Linked DNA regions of Homo sapiens: all the other regions are linked to region 1. Evidence: promoter capture Hi-C in 16 types of primary human blood cells and fetal thymus (Javierre and others, 2016). All regions are on one chromosome and are shown on one strand. Each heading gives the region's core, a stretch centred on a gene start or on the middle of the fragment in contact. The rest is flanking DNA. Distances are from core to core; before and after follow the strand shown.

Region 1 (3,571 bases), core at 590-3,089:
TCCAAAATGAAGGTCTCAGTAGCAAAAGTTCTCTGCCCTACTCTGGCCCTCCTGTCTCTCAGTCCCGTATTTCCCTAGGCTAGCCATAGATATTAGGATCCCTATTCCTCAAGACAAGATGTAGAAACCAGAACCTCTATCCCCTAAAGCCAGCCATAAAAGCCTAAACATATTTTGCTAGTTTTCCCTCCCCCTTTTTCTGTAAAATCTGGCCATAAAGAAATTATCTGACCTGCCTTGTTTGACTGTAGGCTGTTAAGAGCTCCATTCCATTCCTGCCCTATACCCAGAAGGAAGGAATGGTGCTCAGAAGGCCAAGAAGAATCTAGACAGGCCTTGCTGGGTGTCCCCACTCAGTCTGTTAGCATTAGATTATACCATTTTTGTCCAATCACATTTCTACATAGCTGTCCATACTTTGTTGAACCTAAACACAAAAATGGACAATTTTCCAAGTATCTTTGGGTCTCCATTCTGAACGCTCCCATGTATACACATTAAATTTGTATGCCTTTTCTCCTATTAATTTTTTCTTCTATTAATCTGCCTTATGTCAGCGGTTTTCAGTTAACTTTCAGAGGGCCAAAACCTTTTGTCCCTCCAGGTAATGAAAATGTCCACATGACAAATAGTGAATTAGTAGGAGCTTCAGTTCTGCATAATTTAGAATTCACTGTTGAGCACCTCTATACGCATGCCATTATTGTACCTCGTCTTTGTGATCCTCATAACCTGTATTAGGCAACAGCTCATTTATATTGAGAAAACACCTAGGGCACAGCACCACTACTTTGTAGGCTACTTTAATATGTATGTGCATTATGCGAGGTTTTATGAGCTTATTTTCTGACACACTTGCTTTTCTCCAGTTTCCTCAGCTGAAAACAGCGATTCACTGTTACTGTATATATGCTAGGCTCAATGCTGGCGATAACAATTCCTGCAACATAGGGTCAGACAGGAGAAGAATGTTGTAATCTGCAAAGCCCTTCTGATTCTGGGAGTGAGGCCAGCATTAATACAACGCACGATTGTTACTTCTGAATGTCCCTTTGCAAAGAACAGTGTTTCTCAAACTTTTTTCTGACCAGATCTGCATACATTTTACATCGCCGCTGGCGATACATACGTGCAAAACACTGAAATCGAAATTTCTCTAAACAACTCCTTTACTACGTGATGTACTGTGAAACTTTTCTATTTTGTTCTATTCTCAATTTTATTAAAAACGGAGGGTGATGATCCCGATCTACCAAACCAATTTCACAATGCGCTAGAGATTATAACCCGCGGTTTGGAAAATACTGGCTTGGAAAAAGCTCTTTGATCTGTGTCATTCTCCTCACATCTCCCTACACCTCTGCGGAGTTCCGATTGTTTGGTTTCGTCCTGATAATCACTGTGCTGTGTTTTCCCTACACGCTCTGTGACGGGGCCGTCCGCCTCCTTCCTGGGCTCCTTTAAGAGGGTGGTAACGGTACATCACCGCGGGAGTGGAGAGGCAGGGCCCACTAGGTCGTCGCTGCAGGCCAGGCCCGCTCATCCAGTTATTGTGAAAGCCGGGGTGTGCGCGCGAAGAGTGGGAGGGTAGGGGTGAGGCAGGGGCAGCACTGACGCCTCGCAGGGCTGAGTAGCAACAGCTCCTCCGCGCCGCGTTTCCGGAGACCCTGAAGGAGTCCGCGCGTGCGCAGAGCGCGTCCCGGGAACTGTTCCGCCCACGGAGGCTGCCGAGCGCGCTCCCGCCGGGCCAAAGTACAAAGTGGGCTCCAGAGCGCGGGCGGCGCGGCGGCGCGAGCCAGGGGGCGGTCCTGCGCGGCCGGCCCCGCCCTCTGCTCTCCTCCCAGTCTCCCCCGCGCTGCGTGCAGTAAGGTAGCCGCCGCCGCCGCCGCCGCCGCGTCCCCTCGCCGGCTCGCTGGTACCGGCAGTGCCATGGCGGCCTTCAGCAAGTACTTGACGGCGCGAAACTCCTCGCTGGCTGGTGCCGCGTTCCTGCTGCTCTGCCTGCTCCACAAGCGGCGCCGCGCCCTCGGCCTGCACGGGTAAGAAGGCCCGTAGCCGTGCAGCTTTCCCGGGCTGGAGCGGGCGCTCCCCGCGCGCTCTCTCTCCCCACCCGGCCGACAGGTCTCTTTGCCCGACGGGGTCGGGCGGAGAGAGGGCCGACCGCGACTGCCGTGGGACTTCAATGTCAGGGTGTCCGCGAGTCCCCGCCACGACGGCGTCGGTCCCAGCTGGCCTGTCCGGCGACCTCGCTCCACCCCGGGAGTGCGAATTCTTCTGTGCCCGCGGGCGAACCGGCGCCCAGCCAGCACTCAGGCAGCGGCCTCCAGTTGGGGGTGGGAGGGGGATGCGGTGTGTCCCCCACCCCCTTCCCTACATCACCCCCTTCTGTGTCAACTTTCTGGGTGTGTTCTGGTTTTGCCATCTCATCTTCAGACCGTGAAGGATTTGTTTTGGGGACGTGGATGTGTGATTGAGGATGGGGATTGGATTCGCCAGGCTGGAGGCTGGTGTCTAAGTCACTTGGACGAGGTTTGGCTCGATTCCCGACTAACTGCTATTGAAAGTCGCGAGGGTGGCTTCTATGAAACTATTCCCGGTCCACTTGGCAGGATTGCCGTCTAAAGTGGTGAGCCCTTGGAGTCGGTGAACCCTTTGGTCGGTGAACATTTGGTCGGTGGCATTTCATCCGGAAAGGCTGGATCGGTTCTGTCGGACTTAGAGGGAAATGTTTTCCTTCCTGGGCTCTGTAGGTGAAAGATGAGAGTGTGGTTTAGGTGAGGATCAAGCTCCTTTTTAATGACACGCCACTGCTTCCACCGCGGGAGAATTTCAGTGCTTAGATTTAACTTTGGGAGGTTATCAGTTCAGAAAAAGTAAAAAAGAGAGAGCTGAATTACGGTTGCGACATACAGGTATGTATGTCACATACATGCAATTTTTATTTGCTGGACAAGTGAAAGAGAAAAGGCTACTTCCCAAGCGTTCTTGCCAGTCATTGAATATTTCGTATTAAATCTTGACATACTACTTTCATGAATTTTATTTCATTCATTCCTCTGAGCAGGTACTGTTGCCTCCCGTGTTTGATTTGCCTACAATATCTAATTAGTAGTAAAATTTGGGCTAAAACACAAATAGACTTCTAGTTTATAGTACCCTTTCCATTAAGTTCTTTCTAGCCGCCTTCTGTTTTTATCTTACTAGAGTCTGAAGTGATGATCTTTCTTTTCCTTCCTAAATCCATTTAACAGAGTTGAAAATGATTTGCAGCATAGTCTGGGCAATAACAGCGCTTACTCATTTTTCTTCTATTCAGTTTGCTTTTAAAAGGATTAATTTGGGAAAATAAAAAGCAAGTTTTTCTGTTGGTTTGTATGAACTCCCAGTTGCAAATAGAAGTTACCTGTTACCTGGGAACATGCCAGTAGAAAGAAGATGTTAGGTCCTTTAACTTGAATTCTGTTTTTGCAAAGAAGTGTTTCAGGGCATAGAACAGGTGTTTTAATATGGAGGAGGGGACTCGAGGACAGCCCTACAAGTTCTGGATTACTTTTATGATTATATGTATATG
Region 2 (3,571 bases), core at 515-3,014, 970 kb before region 1:
CACTAAAAACACAAAATTTAGCTGGGCGTGGTGGCAGGCGCCTGTAATCCTAGCTACTCGGGAGGTTGAGGCAGGAGAATTGCTTGAACCTGGGGGGTGGAGGTTGCAGTGAGCCGAGATCGCGCCACTGCACTCCAGGCTGGGTGACAAGAGTGAAACGCCGTCTCAAAAAAAAAAAAATCCATTTCCCCTTACTAATTAATGTTACTTGCAATTGCAAAATACATTCATGATTCTAGGGAGTGATAGGAAGTGATGGGAGAGGCGGTTAACAGTGTTAGGTGACATAAATAAACGAAGAAATTATTTTGGAATAGAGGCAATGTAGAAAAATGTTAGAAAGTGTTGTTCAATCCTTCACAGGCTTTTCACTGCATGGTACAAAGTTAAGCATTTAAAAATTGGCTATAACCCACTTGGAAGAGGGCATTTGTATGCTTAAAGTGGCCTCAGAAAAGGACAGCAGAGAATTTAGGAAGATTAGCAACTGGACTGTCAGGCGAACTCAGGCTGTTGGCCTCAACTCCAAGAGGGAGCGCAGCTAGGCAAAAGAATACGGATTAAGCGGAAGAGGTTGGAACACCTGTCCAGGCCAGGTAGGGGAGGAGTTTCAATGCTGACAAAGAACCCGTTGGGAGAGCTTCCTAAAACACCCAGCTGTCATGACGCACTGAGGAGTACTCTACTAGTTGACTGTTTTGAAGTGTGTGTGTGTGCGCTTGCTTGCTTTAGGAGACAAGCTATTAATACTAAAGCATATGTTAGGGAGTTGCTCAGCGTACTTGATATCTAGTAGCACCAGCCAAACTAGCTAACAGCCTTTCCATGGAGATAGGCCAGGAAGTAGCTCCATAGAGAAAAAAGGAAGTAGTGGACCTGCCTCCAAGGTTCCGATACTGGGAGGTGAAAGAGATCTGAAGTTCCGAATAAGCTGTTTACACTACCAGAGAAAAATCTGGCTCCCATCCAACCCTCACCCACGAGGTGCCCATTCCAGACATGGGGCAAGCTGCCTTCTCATCTTCCGCAGGTGACAGCTCGGCTCACATTTGTCCACGTCTTCCATCTCGTGCGCTGGCAACATACCTAAATGATTACTGGAAGAGCTGCCTCTTTTTATAATTTCCTGACAGAATTTATAAAATTAAAATATTTAATTAAAGACAGAATCGGGGACATGTTGCCTTCACATTTGCTGTTCAACCTGTGCACATTTTGGTGGTTCCCAAGAATCGTCATGCCAAAGCATCAGGCTTGAAAGGAGAGATCACCTTAAGCATCAAGATTTAAAAAAATAAAACACAACTCTCCTCAGTCTAAACTCTAGGATTTGGATGACGCTTCCCTGTCAAGGTTTCTCCCGAGTGGAGGAGACAAGAGGCAGGAAAGGCAGGTAACTAAAATTGCCTCATGTAAAGGGGCTCAGCGCAGAGGAGGAATGAGATAATAGCGGCGGTGGGGGTCTTTTCCCTTCTCTCCCTTTCTATCTTGGAAACAGGGGTCCGACTGGCAGCGGAGTGGGGGCAGTCCAAGCTCCGGGGTACCTGCAGGAGGAGACTCGACCAGCGAGAGGGGCCAGCGAGGGTGACCAGGTGCCCGCTTGGGGACCCCGCCGGCGGTGGCCAGGCTAGCCCAGGTCCTCCCCGATCCCAGGATGCACTGCGCCCCGCCCCCTCCCCGCGCCGCGTTCCGCCTCCCCTCGGCCCCGGCCCCCTCCCGCCCAGCGCGGGGAGGCGGGGACGCGTCGGCGGCGGAGGCTTCTCCAGTCGCGTCTTTCTCACTCACTGGGGAGCCCGGCGGTGGCGGCACCTTTCGAGGTAGACCCGCTGAGCTGCTAGCCCGCCGGCCAGCGAGTGAGAGGTCGGACAGACTGTGGAGCCGACAGACTGAAGGACAGCGGCACCGCCAGACGGCCAGAAAGTTCCGCCATGAGCTGGGGCACGGAGCTGTGGGTGAGTCGGGGAGAGGGGCGCCCCGCACGGACCCCGGCCCCTGAGAAGCGCGGGTTGGGCGGGCGCCGCGGACCCTCGGCGGTGAAAGCGCGCTCCGCCGTCCTCGGTCCGGCGCTGGCGGAGGGTGAGGGTCCCGCTCGTCTTTGTGTGCAGACTCCTCTTCCCTTCTCGGCCGGGGGTCTAGGGGGCCGCTAGTCCGTGCTCCCGCCTTTGCCGCCGTGGTGCAGCTCGGGCGGCGCCCGGGACGGCCGGGGGAGCAGCCCGCGGGCTCCTGCGTGCGCCGTGATCCCCTCTTGTTCCTTCTCCCTCCTCCACCTTCACTTTTCCCGACGCCTGGCTTCGCGCCCGGCGGCTCCTCTCTTCCTTTGTATCTCTCCTCCCGGAGGCGGGGGAGGGGGCCCATTGTCCCCAAGGGGCGCTGTTCGAGGGCGGGGAGGGGACCGGCCGCGATTCCTCGCCCGGGCCAGGTCCGCGGGGCTAGGGCGTCGCCCGTCTGGGGCGGCGCCGCCCAGAGCCCTCGCCCCAGGTATGGGGACCCAGGCGGCTTTGTTCGGAGCCCGGCCTCGGGCCAGCCAGGCCCAGCCCACACGCACATTTCTCTCTCCCTGCCTCAGTGCTTCGGGCGGGCACAGCTTCGAGGGACTCCGGTTTGGCCACCCCCGGCTGCAGCCTTTGGGCTGGTGGGTTGGTTTTGGGGGCTGAATTAAATCGAGTGATCGATGAGGAAGCTAATTTTACCAAAAGGAGCGTACGGTCTCCCTGTTGCTTTACTTCCCTTTCCGTTCTTTATTCTCACTTGTTCTTTCTCCTTCGTTCTCTCCTTTCCTTTCCTCCTTGCCTTTCTTTGGCACAGGAGGCTCCAGACAATGCCCAGTGTCTGGCCAAGGTACGGGCGGAGGGTAATAGGTCGGAGAATTTGCTCCTGGCGCCGGCGCGGAAGGGTCGAGGTGTGGAGGGCAGTGATTTCTCAGGTGCGGAGGGCAGTGATTTCTCAGGTGCGGCCGGGAGAACTGGGGGCGTGGGGGCGCTGTCCCGAGAGCCGCCTGGCCTCAGCCACTCCCCTTTTTATTCCACCTGTGCCTGTTTTCCGTGCCTTTTGTTCGCGAGGATCTCGTGAAATCACTGCAGAGAAAGGGGAGAAATAACTTTTGAGTATGTGTGTGCCCAGCTAGGGTGGGAGTGAAAGCCAATGGGTTAATTGAAAGGCAAAATGTTTTCTTATTTTTCACGTCTACTCATAGATTGGGAATCTTAGAACTGTGAGACTTTAGAGTCCATCTAGTGAATGCTTTACTTAGCCAGCCAGGAATCTCTTGTGCAACATTCTGTACAAGTGCTTACCCAGTCTGAAAACACACCACCCAAGAGAAAATACCTTAGGAGCCCCTTCATTCCGTTTCTTAGATAGCATTAATTGTTCTTATATTGGGGAGGATTGCATGGTAAATGAATTACATAAAGTTTAATTCTTTTACATTGGTTAGTTTCTCAGGCATTATTGGCCTTTTTCCCTTACACTTTGTGCATTCTATAATTGATTATAGTGAATTATCAATGAAAGGAAATGGGTATAGTTTTATTTTAAATTTTTAAATTTTTTATTTTTTTCATGCCTACCA
Region 3 (3,571 bases), core at 341-2,840, 790 kb before region 1:
CAAGGACAAGCTATAGATGGGCTGGGGATCCACAGCCCCTCTGGACATCCCCACCCCCTGCCCATAACTTCTCTGTAACAGTAGCAAATCTGGCAAACTTGGAGGCAATGGGTATCCAGTACATAAACCAGGAGGGAGATAAACTAGGGAAAGATGGGAATAGGACTTGAAAAGATTTTCTTTTTTTTCGCAAAACTTAGCATTCATGTCTCAACATTTTATATATGTATCCTGAATAGAGATAATAGAAATATAGCAGAATATACTTCTGATCCTAAAAATGTAAGGGGGGGAATGGTATAGATAGCAGGTGGTGGCTATTATATTTAAAAGCTTTACTGAGTAGCATGTGTATTCATCCTTTTAATGGATGTGTGAGCCAATCAGAATACTGAACACTGAATGGTCCAAGAGTAAGCAGGTGAATGACATGAGACCAAACAGAGTCCTTCCCTGAGACTTTTCAAACTAGGGCTGAGAGAGACATCCCCTTTTCCCCTTGGACCACAAGCCTTAAGAATATAAGCCTAGAGCAGCCCACAGCCAGGCCCTCACTGCATAAAGAAGCTGATGGAAGAGAATGTGGTCAAAGTGCTGAGAGAGGCAGATGCAAGAGACTAAGGTCCTAAAAATGTTTTCCTTCCCAGAAGTAGTCATCAACCCAGGCCACTCCACCCCTGCCCTTCCCAGAGGTAAGTTTCCTAGCTCACACCATCAATTTGGGTTTACAGGCTCACCTTATCAGTGTAAGATTAAAACTTGAGATGGAGATGTAACATACTGTGTCTGGCTCTGTTGGAGATTATGTGTATAAAATGTGATCTCTGTATCTGAGAAATGCTACAAGGAGCCAACATGAACTGATGTTACATGAAAACATGCATATTATACACCCATTAATAATAGGGTTGTACACTCATGTGTCAGCAATGAATGGAAATTAATGGTGTTTTGCAGTCTATTCCAGGGACTTCCATGGAAATAATTGAGTTGCCTTGAGTTTTCAAGGATAACAATACACGAATTTGCCTCTAGGAAGAGGGAGAGGGATTCATGTTGTTGGAATGTACTGTGCCACTGGTGTAGGGGTGAGTTCTGCTCCCACACCCAGCACCTCCCAGCCAGGGGAAAGCACAAACAAACTGCATTCTCAGCCCTGCTTATGTGGCATCAGCACCATCCTCAGCTCCTGGAGGATGTTTCCAAAAGGCTTTTCTGCTATGTGGAAGGCCACAGGACCCAATTTAGAGGTACTGGCTGAGACATCCCCTTATTGAGGCCAGGTGAGCTTTTCCCGGTACAGTCACCTGCGAGGGCAACCCTCATGACTTCTTTCCAGGTCAAAGGACAGGACGTTTACATCATCTCCAAATCACATTCAAATCTTCCCAAATGTGCTCCTTAGACAGTCCTTAGGTGGACATGGCCTGGAAGTTTGGGAGCCCCTGCTCTCAGTCTGTGTGGGCCCGTAGGGGTTTCCTTCTCCCCTTAAGAAGCCCTAGCTCCAACCCTGTCCTCCAGGGTTCAGCTACTGAAGCACTCATTAAAATGACTGGTGCCCTTGTCTGTTGGCCTCATGACCCATGTCTTATTGTCATCATTGGAATGCCTGAACATGATAGGGGCCCACTGAACATTTGGAGATAGCTCAGGGATTCTCAACCTGGGGTCCACAAACACCTGGAACTAAGATGTGCAGTAAGTGTGCATGCATATTTCTAGAGACGTGGCTCTTGTTCATGGTATTTGCAAGAAGGTAGGGGCCCTTCCCTGTCTCTCCAAAAATAGTTCAGAACTGCAGAGGCGTGAGGGATGACAGGCCACACAGAAGTCATGCTCCTCACCGGGTAAGCCAGCCTTGCCAGCCTCTGGCTGAATTACGGCTGCTTCCCACTTTGGCCCTAAGAGTCATTTTACGGCCAGGCGCGGTGGCTCATGCCTGTAATCCCAGCACTTTGGGAGGCCGAGGAGGGCGGATCACGAGGTCAGGAGATCAAGACCATCCTCACTAACATGGTGAAACCCCACCTCTACTAAAAATACAAAAAAATTAGCCAGGCATGGTGGCGGGGGCCTGTAGTCCCAGCTACTCGGGAGGCTGAGGCAGGAGAATGGCGTGAACCCAGGAGGCAGAGCTTGCAATGAGCCAAGATTGCACCACTGCACTCCAGCCTGGGTGACAGAGCAAGACTCCATCTCAAAAATAAAAGAGTCATTTTACTCTCTCAAACTTTGAACTAGCTGGGATTCCAAACTGGGAGAGGCTTCCAGAATGCAGTAATTCCCAACTCACACTACCTGTACTCTGTTCAAGTAATCCTGAAACCAGGAGGTAAGGGGACTTGACTCTATTCTGTCAAGGCTTTCATGTAGAGACCATGAGGAGACAGACAGGAGGGCACTGAACCAGGATGGATTCAGCTGGACCACACAGACCCCTTCAAAATACACCCACCTGGGCCTGGTAAAAATAAGAATCCGGCTGAAGACTGGTGGTCACAGGAAACAGTCCATCAGTTTCCTTATTTCTTCTGTACAAAAAGCTCTTTTGAGAATGTGAATGGGGGCTTTATATAGTAAGTTCTCATCCACAGGCTAATAAATATGTGAAATGGCTTCTCAGACCAGGTTCCTGCAGCCTGGACACTGAGGTCATTCAAGAAACAATTAGATGCCATCTGGAGAGGGCTGGGACTCGAAAGGAAATTGCCTTGAAGGGCCAAACAGCATGTTCTCATTCCCAGGGTCTGACACATCCTTATCTTCATTCACATAAAGGATGGATGGAGCTCAGCCAGCAAATCCACACTGGGAGCATAGAAGGAGCCAAGGCTGCAGCAATTAATAAAAGCTTAAGGATCAGGAGAATGCGCACTTCCAGCCTGTCCCAAGTAAATGGATCCCTGCAACAAATTTCTCCCTCGACTACACTTGCATACTCAGGCAGAGCACCTTGCCATAACCCAGCCTTGGCCTCACCAAGCTTGGGGTTTTCAGAGTTTTAATATAAAGCAATGAGAGGAGAGTTACAATTGCTTCTGGCCTAGCACTTTATAGTATATGATGAGCAACCAGATCTTTACAGTATATCATGACTTGGTTATGTTACATAGAGTTAGCATTTCCAGAGGTGTCACAATCCACTCCACTGCAAGGAACAGGCCCACAATTGAGAACCCTTACTTCAAGGATTGACTCTCAATTTTTTCCTTACTTTTAAATGAAAATTTAATGTCTTTCCTACATTAAAAACAAGTCTCTTTAAATGTAAATGCAACTGTTGGGCAAGCTGAGCTTAAAAGTAAACTTTGCTAGAGAAATAAATATGGATTTAGATAAACAAGAGGGGATTATTTGTGTTTTAAGTGTTTTTGCAGCTTTTAGTCTCTTAAGTAGCAAAAGACCCTCTGGTACAGTGGTGCTCAAAGTGTGTTCCACAGGCTGATCTGCAGGCTGGGGGGTCTTCTGGGGGTCTGAGAGGTCAAAACTTATTTTCATAATAATACAGAGACATTTTTTGCCTGTTTCACTGGGTTGACATTTATACTGGTGGTGCAAAAGCTATGATGGG
Region 4 (3,571 bases), core at 760-3,259, 580 kb before region 1:
TCTAGCATGGACTCTTGTTAGGACAGTATCTACAGGGTCTTTCCATGTATCATTATTGTTCGCCACAGGCTTAGAAATGACAAACGCTTGGCCAGCAAGTAAGATCATCCAGAGAAATGGGGGAAGGGATGGCCCCTTTCTTTCTCTCTTTATGCTCCTGGCCTTAGTCTGTTTTGTATTGCTATAAAAGAATACTGGAGACTGGGTAATTCATAAAGAAAAGAGGTTTGCTTAGCTCACAGTTCTGCAGGCTGAGAAGTTCAAGGGCATGGCCCTGCTTCCCGCAAGGGCTTTTGTGCTGCATCACAACATGGCAAAGGAGATCAAAAGGGAAGTGGACATGTGTGAAGGGGGAGAAAAACCTGAGGAGCATCCTGTCTTTATTACAACCCACTCCCTGGAAACCAATCCATATCCATGAGAAGTAATCCAGTCTAGCAACAGTGAGAACACATGTACTACTATGAGAGTAGCACGAAGCCATTCATAAAGGATCCACCCTCATTACCCAAATACCCCCCACTAGGTCTGACCTCCAACACTGCCACACTGGGGATCAAATATCAACATGCATTTTGGTGGGGACAAACTAACTCTATGCAAACCATAGCACCTCTCCATTACTAGTGTTGAAAAACTTGATACTAAGTAGCCCTCCCCTTTCTAGTCATTTATAGTCTGCTACTGAAGATCTGAGAAAAACGGGATGCTAACCTTACCATTCTACAAACGCAGTTATTATACAATTACACTGTCAGGGATCCAGAAGTAAATAATTTGCATTCAAGGGCAGACATTCCAAGCAAGGAGGGCAATTTCAGCCGGTGTATTTGCTACTGGTTGTGACTATCTACCTGATGTCTTGAGATATAATAAAATGCACAGAATGGATCATTTCAAGGAAAAAGTGGGCAAAGACCAAAAAATAGTGAAATAGTGAAATAAGGAGCATCCCAGTGGACCTCCATGTCCTTCAGATGAACTGGGACACATTCTGAGTCTAGTTCCAAATTTCAGTTATTTAGTTATAAATAAACAAAGCAATGGCAAATAAAAACTAAAAAGTGCCAGGCGTGGTGGCTCACGCCTGTAATCCCAGCACTTTGGGAGGCCGAGGCAGGTGGATCACCTGAGCTCAGGAGTTTGAGACCAGCCTGGTGAAACCCCATCTCTACTAAAAATATAAAATTAGCTGGGCGTGGTGGCATGTGCCTGTAATCCCAGCTGCTCAGGAGGCTGAGGTGGGAGAATCGCTTGAATCGTGGAGGTTGCAGTGAGCCGAGATTGTGGCACTGCACTCCAGCCTGGGCAAAAAGAGTGAAACTCAGTCTAAAAGAAAATAAAAAGAAAAAAACTAAACTAAACTAAAAAGTGGGCAATGTATCTAGTTAGATTCAGAAAGCTGAATGACAAACAACAAGATCTCAATTGGGACAAGGATTGCTGATCTCATCTATGGGTCTATAACAGGAACATACCATGGGGAAACAGCAGAAGTTGTGAAAGCTTAGATACCTCTGGCTGGAGGATTTTCTTTATCAATCAGCTTGGTACTCAAGTATGGTCATTGCCTAACTGAGGTCGTGGGCCTGATCCTTCTGACTCAGAAGAAGGAAGGCAGCCAGGAGTTATTCATCTGCCTCTTTTAGATTGGACTGAATCTACATTCTGTTAGACACCATTAGCAATATAACTTTTCTTCCTCAGTTCCCTCACAAAATGAGAAGTAAAAGGTCATAGTTTCCTCTGAAGTAATTTTTTTGGGCCAATATATCAGATTGATTCTGAGCTTTTTGATGGAGTTTTGAGATTTGCTTATTAAGGATTTAAATTCATGCTAATAACAGAAGCCCAAGTGGAATAATGAGAGCTTGAATACCTAAGCCCTAAACCAGTGCATTTTAAACTTTAGTGCAAATGAGTCACTGAGGGGATCTTAGTAAAATACAGATTTGATTCAGCAGGCCTAGGGTGGGGCCGAGAGCCTGCATTTCTAATCTGCTCCCAGGTCATGCTGATACTCCTGGTTCATGGTCAGCATTTTTGCAGGAAGGGCAGAGGGCATTATTTTCAAATTTGGCTACATATGAGAATCACCTAGGGAGTTTAAAAAAAATGCTGATGCCAGGGTCCCATCCCCAGAAATTGTGATTTAACTGGCCTCAGGGTGCATCCTGGGCATCAAGATTCTAGAGCGTGGTAGAGTTTGAAGACCGCTAGTCTAACAAGTCTGCTCCCAGTTGCTTGCTGATTCTCTCCTGATTTCTTTTCTAGGAGAAACTGCTGTAGTCCAGGGTATATGTGAACTTGGGGACAGGTGCCTGGATTCAATCCTGCTGCTTTCCCTGTGGTTTGCCTTCCCATCTGGGAATGGGGCAATGATCCTGCCTACCTTAGAGGGTTGTTATGAAGATTAAGTGAGGTCTGATATACATGAAGAACCCAGAAAAGTGCCTGGTGTGATGCGTTATTACTTCATTATTATTTTCAACTGCTAAACAATTAAGATTCACTAAGCTTTAATAGATGGTTATTTGTTGTGAGGCCCACGAGTGGGGCTCAGAATGCCTTTCCTTCCAAATATGCTTACCAGAAGAAGTCATCCTACTAGTTTGTTGAGAACTTAAAAGGCAGAGATGTCATTCTGAGGGGAAGAAATTTAAGACCTACTCCCCCAAACTGGGTCACTGAAAGCAGGAATTAGGACACTGAAGATCCACTTCTACTTCCACAAACGCATTCAGGCATCATTTATGGAGTGTCCACTGTGTACATGATATTCTGCCAAGCCTTGGGGAGAATTACAAAACAGTTAGAAAGCACGGATGTTTAGCTTTCAAGAGCTTCTGGTCTAATGCAGAAGATAAGCTAGGCACATAGTCAAGTAGCTTCCTTATTGCCTACAGGACTCATTCATTTGTTCAATCAATATTCAAAGCTACTTGTTGTGAGCTAGCCACAATGCTAGGGACTGAGGTTACAAAGATAAAGGAAAAGAAGACGTGCTCCCCCCACTTTCCTCCCACTCCCCCAAGATGCTTATTGTCTGGGAGAAGAGATAGAAAACCACACAGAAAATTATAGAGCTTTGAAAGTACCTTGGGAATCCAGGAGTCCCTCCCCACCACCAGCAGACTAGGCTGCAGAAGAATGTCTGGGAAAATTCTCGGAGGAGGTGACATGGGGCTGCTCAACCCCAGGCTCCTTAGCCTTGCATTTGAAGCGCTTCCGGATCTTTGCCCCACTGACTTTCTCAGCTGTATCTCTTAAGTCAAGCCCATTTCCTATACTCATTCATGCTCTGCTGTCTGACTTTGCTCAAGATTGCAAGGTCCATGGCAGCAAGGACAGCATTTGTCTTCTTCACCAAAGGGTCCCAAGAGACTTGTGGAGAGCCTGGCTAGTCTCAATGCTTAAATGAATGAATGTGGTCTTTTGTTTGTGCAGGGACAAGCCTGACCAGCCTTGAAGACCCAAGTAAGGCTCAGCCTTTGTTTAGCCATCTCAACAGCAGAGACAGGTAACTGCCACTTACAAGATACTCCTACATCCTTCCTGAGCCCTACTAGGC

What was found. Contacts are between HindIII fragments. The CHiCAGO score rates a contact against its expected background, and 5 or more counts as called.
Region 2: the fragment with the promoter of FNBP1L here is called in contact with the fragment with the promoter of ABCD3 in region 1 in 4 of 17 cell types (naive B cells, total B cells, naive CD8 T cells and 1 more); the score reaches 7.9 in naive B cells.
Region 3: a fragment that was not itself captured here is called in contact with the fragment with the promoter of ABCD3 in region 1 in 1 of 17 cell types (total CD4 T cells); the score reaches 5.5 in total CD4 T cells.
Region 4: a contact is called between a fragment that was not itself captured here and the fragment with the promoter of ABCD3 in region 1, in 2 of 17 cell types (non-activated CD4 T cells and naive CD8 T cells). The highest score is 6.7, in non-activated CD4 T cells.

Annotation. Positions count from the first base shown.
Region 1 is chr1:94,416,550-94,420,120 of GRCh38, forward strand. ABCD3 (ATP binding cassette subfamily D member 3) reads left to right here and starts at 1,840. Exons shown (of 23, transcript NM_002858.4): 1 at 1,840-2,039. The coding sequence starts at 1,930. RefSeq lists enhancers at 1,029-1,820, 2,292-2,431 and a silencer at 1,582-1,961. The HindIII fragment of the contact is 10,166 bases long and covers 1-3,571 here.
Region 2 is chr1:93,446,354-93,449,924 of GRCh38, forward strand. It overlaps FNBP1L (formin binding protein 1 like), which reads left to right and starts at 1,765. Exons shown (of 17, transcript NM_001164473.3): 1 at 1,765-1,952. The coding sequence starts at 1,929. RefSeq lists silencers at 639-933, 1,873-1,922 and an enhancer at 1,414-2,392. The HindIII fragment of the contact is 14,675 bases long and covers 1-3,571 here.
Region 3 is chr1:93,623,012-93,626,582 of GRCh38, forward strand. The region is part of intron 3 of BCAR3 (BCAR3 adaptor protein, NSP family member); the gene reads right to left. Among named protein-coding and RNA genes, the nearest start is that of BCAR3-AS1, 33 kb to the left of the region's middle. The HindIII fragment of the contact is 2,518 bases long and covers 332-2,849 here.
Region 4 is chr1:93,837,956-93,841,526 of GRCh38, forward strand. It overlaps a transcript of BCAR3 not described here. Among named protein-coding and RNA genes, the nearest start is that of MIR760, 7.1 kb to the right of the region's middle. RefSeq lists a silencer at 1,425-1,625. The HindIII fragment of the contact is 1,011 bases long and covers 1,505-2,515 here.